Regions from separate parts of the Homo sapiens genome. Here region 1 is linked to region 2. Evidence: promoter capture Hi-C in human tissues and cell types (Jung and others, 2019). All regions are on one chromosome and are shown on one strand. Each heading gives the region's core, a stretch centred on a gene start or on the middle of the fragment in contact. The rest is flanking DNA. Distances are from core to core; before and after follow the strand shown. Region 1 has its middle 14 kb from the start of PPP1R13B-DT. Region 2 holds the start of RD3L (RD3 like).

Region 1 (3,299 bases), core at 426-2,925, 81 kb before region 2:
AACTCTCGGTCCGAATTCTCTGTTCCCTGGCCCACCTGGAACTCTCCGACCATCTGTGCTCCCTGTCACAGGGGCTCCTGGTGGGAGGAAGTTGAGCCTGGGGAGAAGCGACTCGGCTGGCACGCTGGCTTCCAGCCCTGCCCTGTCCTTCCCGCCGGCCAGCTGCTTCCAGGTCAACCTTGGGTCCCACTCCTGAGGACAATGTCCCTTCACTGTCCCAAGCAGGAGCGCTGATTCCGTCATCTGTCATGTACGAAAACCCCTTCTTGAAGCTTCTCAGATGCCCCTGCCTTTCCTGGCCAGGGGTTTCTCTCCTAGTCCGTCTGCTGTGGTCTTTCTAGAGGGCCGAATCAAGGCCAGTTCTGAGTGCTCCTTAATTTATTTTTATGTTGAAATTTAATTTTGATTTTCAAAATTGTCATTGCATCATTCCCAAGTGTTTCAAAGGATTTTATCTCACTTGCCGGTCGCTATAATCCTGTGAAGGAAATACCATTTCTCCTTCATTACAGATGAGGATATGGAGGCTTTCCGGGTCTTTCAGCCTCTGAGTGGGAGAGCCAAGATTCAAATCCAGCTCTTCTGACTCTAAATCCTGCACTCTCTACAATGTATACACTTTGCATTGTTTTATGAGCTCAGGATCCATTTGGCAGTAACTACTTGGATATTTTGTAGCAAGAAGTTAGCAAAATGTGCTTTCTTTTCTTTCTTTCTTTTTTTTTTTTTTTTGGAGATGGAGTCTCGCTGTTGCCCAGGCTGGAGTGCAGTGGCGCAATCTTGGCTGGATCTCAGCTCACTGCAGGCTCCGCCCCCTGGGTTCACGCCATTCTCCTGCCTCAGCCTCCTGAGCAGCTGGGACTACAGGCGCCCGCCACCTCGCCCGGCTAATTTTTTGTATTTTTAGTAGAGACGGGGTTTCACCATGTTAGCCAGGATGGTCTCGATCTCCTGACCTCGTGATCTGCCCGCCTCGGCCTCCCAAAGTGCTGGGATTACAGGCGTGAGCCACCGCGCCCGGCCCAAAATGTGCTTTCTTTCACACAGTACCTATGAGCTTGGACTGTGGAGCTAGAGAACATCTGCCACTTAGTTTCGGCTGTGTAATTTTGGGCCAGTTACATAACGTTTCTGTGCCTTAGTTTGCTCACCTGTAGATGGGGATAATAACAGTGCCTCCCTCAAGGATTATTATTATTATTATTATTATTATTATTATTATTATTATTATTTTTGAGACAGAGTCTTGCTCTGTCACCTAGGCTGGAGTGCAGTGGTAAGATCTCGGCTCACTGCAACCTCCACCTCTCGGGTTCAAGCAATTCTCCTGCCTCAGCCTCCCAAGTAGCTGGGACTACAAGCGTGCACCACCATGCCCAGCTAATTTTTGTATTTTTAGTAGAGACGAAGTTTCACCATGTTGGCCAGGCTGGTCTCAAACACCTGACCTTAGGTGATCCACCCGCCTTGGCCTCGCAAAGTGCTGGGATTACAGTAGTGAGCCACAGCGCCCAGCCTCCCTCAAGGATTTTTGTCAGTTACATGAAACAATGTGTGCATCACATGGTGAACACCACATCGGCATTTGCTGTGTCCCTGCACTGGGTGAGACGCTGCTGCCTGCTAGGGAGGGCCCCATCTCATGGCCAGCCAGCTCATCTGCTGATCTGCCTTGAGTGAGAAGGCTGCCGACCTGACCTTGAAACACTCCCACCAGCTCAACAGCAGCATCTTCTCACTGGCTCACCCACACCAGCCTTCCCCACATAGACATGAGTACAGAGGGGAACAGGGTGATCTGTCCTTTTTGCCAACACCAGAGAAGGCAGCTGGCAGTGGCATTTGGAGATAAGGTGGCTGACTGCTGCAATTGGTGCTGGGGTGCCTGAGATGGTTCTGAAAAGTTCAGGAAACACCTCTCAAGTGAAGTAGGAGGACATGGTGCATACCTCCCAGAAACGCTGAAAGGAAGTTGCTGGCCCCTTAGCCTGCCCGGAGCCAGGGGTCTGCTCAGCTGAGCGAGGTCTGAAGAGCACAGGCAAGGCCAGGAGGGGCTTTGCTGAAGGATGTTGGTCTTGAAAGACGGGTCCAGCTGGGGCCAGGGGGGAATTTACACACACACACACACCCCCACATACATGCACATACCGGCGGATGTCTTGAGGCCAGGAGTTTGAGATCAGGCTGGCCAACATGGTGAAACCCCATCCCTACTAAAAATAGACAAATTAGCGAGGTGTGGTGGCACGCACCTGTAATCCCAGCTACTCGGGAGGCTGGGGCACAAGAATTGATTTAACCTGGGAGGTGGAGATTGAAGTAAGCCTAGATCATGCCACTGCACTCCAGCCTGGAAAACAGAACGAGACTCTGTCTCCAAAAAAATCATCATCATAATAATAATCCATGTACTTGTGTCACCAGTAGAGGGTCTTGACTGCAAGTTTTCCAGGTTCTTGGCGTTTTGAACAAAGAATTGGACAAAATGCCCAGCAACGCAAAGAAAGAATGAAGCAATGAAAGAACGAAAGCAGGGATTTACTGAAAATGAAAGTACACTCCACAGTGTGGAAGCAGCTGGAGCAGCTCAAGAGCCCGGATACAGAATCTTCTCGGGTTCAAATACCCACTACAGGTTTCCTATTGGCCACTTGGTAGTCACCTTATGTAAATGAAGCAGTGGCCCACAATTGGTTGCGGAAAGCAGTCAATCAGAGGCTGAAGTGAAGTTACAAAGGTCACACTCCTGTGCAAACATCTGATTGGCTATAGAAAGTGACCAATCAGAGGCTAAAGTTACAAAGTTATACTCCTGTGCAAATGAAGACTCGGTCACCATTCAGTCTGATTGGTTGCCAACAGCCAATTTCCCATCTGCCATGAAGAAAAGGTGTGGGTTCAAGCCAGGTGCAGTGGCTCACGCTTGTAATCCCAGCACTTTAGGAAACTGAGGAGAGCGGATCACTTGAGGTCAGAAGTTCAGGACCAGCCTGGCCAACATGGCGAAACCCCATCTCTACTAAAAATACAAAAAAATTAGTTGGGCGTGGTGGTGGCACCTGCCTGTGGTCCCAGCTACTCGGGAGGCTGAGGCAGGAGAATCGCTTGGACTTGGGAGGCAGAGGTTGCAGTGAGCCAAGATCATGCCACTGGCACTCCAGCCTCGACCACAGAGACCCTGTCTCCAAAAAAAAAAAAAAAAAAAGGAGGTTTGCAAAAGAAGTAGCTTCGGCTCCTTTTGTTATTTAGGCTTGGAAAGTTAGGGTTTTCTTTTCAATTTAGTTCTAGGAAGTTGGTGT
Region 2 (2,945 bases), core at 3-2,502:
GCTCACCAGACATCTACACAGTTAAAGAATTTACATGATAGAATACAGTTTCTAGTCAAAATATATGAGGAACTTGGACTTAGCAGTAGCAGGAATCATAAGAGAACATAGTATTTTTACCTGCTGAGAATAGTTCCAGTTTGGCAAGGTTGAACTTGTGAGCAAAGAACTTCAAGTTGTCTTTGTTCAGTCACTGGGATAGTTGTGTGGGGATTCTGGTAGTTTCTGAGCCAGTTGTAATCCACACCTGTTTTTTTCACTTTTTGTTCATTTTCGATTTCTTGTATTAATCTCTCTCGCTCCTTTAGGTGCCATTTTAATTCCCGAAGCAGAGTCTTTGTCACTATGTCTGAGCCAGGATAGTGTGTGGGTTTGTAGGAATCGTTTTTGGGCCATTTCATCCAGCCAAAAAGTGGCATTTTTAGCCTATGGAAATATTTTCACTTGTTTATTTGCTCAAAATGTTATGTTCTTCTGAGCAAATATTTGTTTCTTTACAATAAATTTGCCCGAAAAGTGCACGATTTTTTTTCACATTTAGCTATGCAGGTCAAAATAAGATTAGAACATGGATTAACGTCTTAATTTTTAACTAGGTCAGTGGCAGAAACCAAGCTTTGAAAATGCTTTTATGTAGCTTAGCAGAAATTAGATATACAAAGTCAGAGATAACATATAGACTGAATGATATCCGAAAATAACACTAACACTTGCTGTGAAAAGTTCTTAAGAGACTTAAAATATTAATGTCGGGGCAAGTGCTGCCTACAGATACTTTTGATTTATGTTTTGGACAGAAAAGGTTTAAAGCTTACCTGTTAAGTTGATGGGCTGATGTGATGTTGCCAAAGAGTTGACTGAAGTTGGTGACGAAGCTGTGTTTCACTGGGACGTATCTTGCTCTCCTAGGTGTGTCCTCTGTAGAAGGAATGCGCCACCTTATTTACCCACCGAAACTGTATTTGAAATAAATAACTTTCTGTGTTAGGAATGAGGCTGTGATGTCTTCATTTGGAGAGAATGCTCATTAATTCACCTTGTAAGTAAGCTAGAAGAAATGACAAAAATAACTGACTATTTAATCTTCACAAGTTATATAATGGTCTGCCTTTTCAATGTAGCTCAGTCTATTTGAAAAAAATGCCAGCAGCTATAGATGCTGGTCCTAAATGCATTCCGACATGTCTTTGGTAGTGAAACGAAGAATGGTCGTCTAAAGCACCATAGATGCGCTCCGAGCTAGAGTGAAGACTGTCGCGTGATGTGATGCTTTGCTGTGCATAGCTGTAGGTCACAGTTTAGTGCTGTATTTTTATGCCTGTAGAGCTCTAAAAATAGCCACGTTGCTTTTATTCTTCAGCTTAACTTTCAGGCCATTTGGAAGCCGGGTCACTGTCCCCTCTAGTGAAAACAGGAAAAATAGATTAGACTTGACTATTTGCAAAACATACATTCTGAGAAAACTCATTGTAATTGAGTGAAATAGGTAAAGAATGCTGATGTGAATTATAATTGTGAAATATTTAGCAAATGTTACATTTTGTATTCATTTTGGTTTTTTCAAAATAGTTAAATTTGTATATTTAAGCAAGTTGAAATGCTAGGGGACATAATAAACAGCTAGATAACTTTAAAATATACTTTATAATCTCTGAAAATATGGTAATAAGGCAGTAATTGGTTGTCAGGGAAAAATAGAGGCATAAGAACATACAAAATTCTAAACAAAATCTTATAATTCATCGTAGAAAAATCATTTTCGTGTTTTTTTTTTGGAGCTGAGGATGAAAAACTTATATTTACTATTTAGGTGCATATTGGTTTGTAATGGTCATTATTGTGCTATTTCTTTTTTCTTTCTTTCTTTTTTTTGAGACAGAGTCACGTTGTGTCACCCAGGCTGTAGTGCAGTGGCATGATCACGGCTCACTGTAGCCTCGACCTCCTGGGCTCAAGTGATCCTCCCACCTCAGCCCCCTGAATAGCCAGGACCATAGGTGCATGCCACCACAGGTGCATGCTACGGCATGCCTGGCTAGTTTAAAAAAATATATACACACGCACATATGTACATACATATATGTTTTATATATGTACATATGTGTATGTATTTTATATATGTACATATATGTATATATACACATAAGTATATATACGCATATGTATATGTATTATATATGTATATATAAATATACACACATATATAATACACACATATATACACACACACATACATTTCTTTTTTTTTTTTTTTTGTAGAAATAAGGTCTCCCTGTGTTGCCCAGGCTGGTCCGTAAACTGGGCTCAAGTAATCCACCTGCCTCAGCCTCCCAAAGTGCTGGGATTACAGGCATGAGCCACTGCGCTGGCCTGTGCTAATTTCCTATGCAAGTGTTTGTCTTTTGCTAAAGAGTAGATAGTATAAAAGGTCTTTTACTCCCCAGTTCTCTGTGAAACGACTGCATAGTGGTTTTCCCTTTTATAGTATTTGTTTCTTCTGTTGCTTTTCCTTTCAAGTGAGCCATGAAGAGTAGACGTTGTTTACATCAGACTTGCATGTCATGCATGACCCAGAGTGACGTGTGTGGCCACCCTACAGCTCCTGTTGCTTAGATGTTAGAAAAAGCCAGATGTCAGGACTGATTATTGTCAACTGGAAGGTTTTCACATGACATTGCATATACTGTTAGGAGAAGGAAAGGAGTAAAGTTTATGATGACAGAAGTGTCCTACCAAATTTTATACTAAAATTACAGCGAATCTTGCCGCATACTCCTTTGAATAACCTCCTTGTTACTGCATAAATTTTTTTCCTCTGAAATGGTAACAAAAATATCAGAACATATTGGATATGGAACTTAAGCCAAATTTCTGTTCAAGGCCCTCTGCAGTCTCACATTATCCCTCCTTCAAGGCCCTCTACAGTCTTACGTTATCCCTCCTTA

Evidence for each region. Contacts are between HindIII fragments. The study calls those that stand out against the background at their distance.
Region 1: a contact is called between a fragment that was not itself captured here and the fragment with the promoter of RD3L in region 2, in 5 of the 25 tissues and cell types used here (H1 embryonic stem cells, dorsolateral prefrontal cortex, liver and 2 more).

Annotation. Positions count from the first base shown.
Region 1 is chr14:103,859,934-103,863,232 of GRCh38, forward strand. No RefSeq gene overlaps it. Among named protein-coding and RNA genes, the nearest start is that of PPP1R13B-DT, 14 kb to the left of the region's middle. The HindIII fragment of the contact is 8,038 bases long and covers 1-3,299 here.
Region 2 is chr14:103,941,277-103,944,221 of GRCh38, forward strand. It overlaps RD3L (RD3 like), which reads right to left and starts at 1,253. Exons shown (of 3, transcript NM_001257268.2): 1 at 816-1,253; 2 at 121-426. The coding sequence starts at 419. All of the region lies in intron 1 of TDRD9 (tudor domain containing 9), which reads left to right. The HindIII fragment of the contact is 5,559 bases long and covers 1-2,945 here.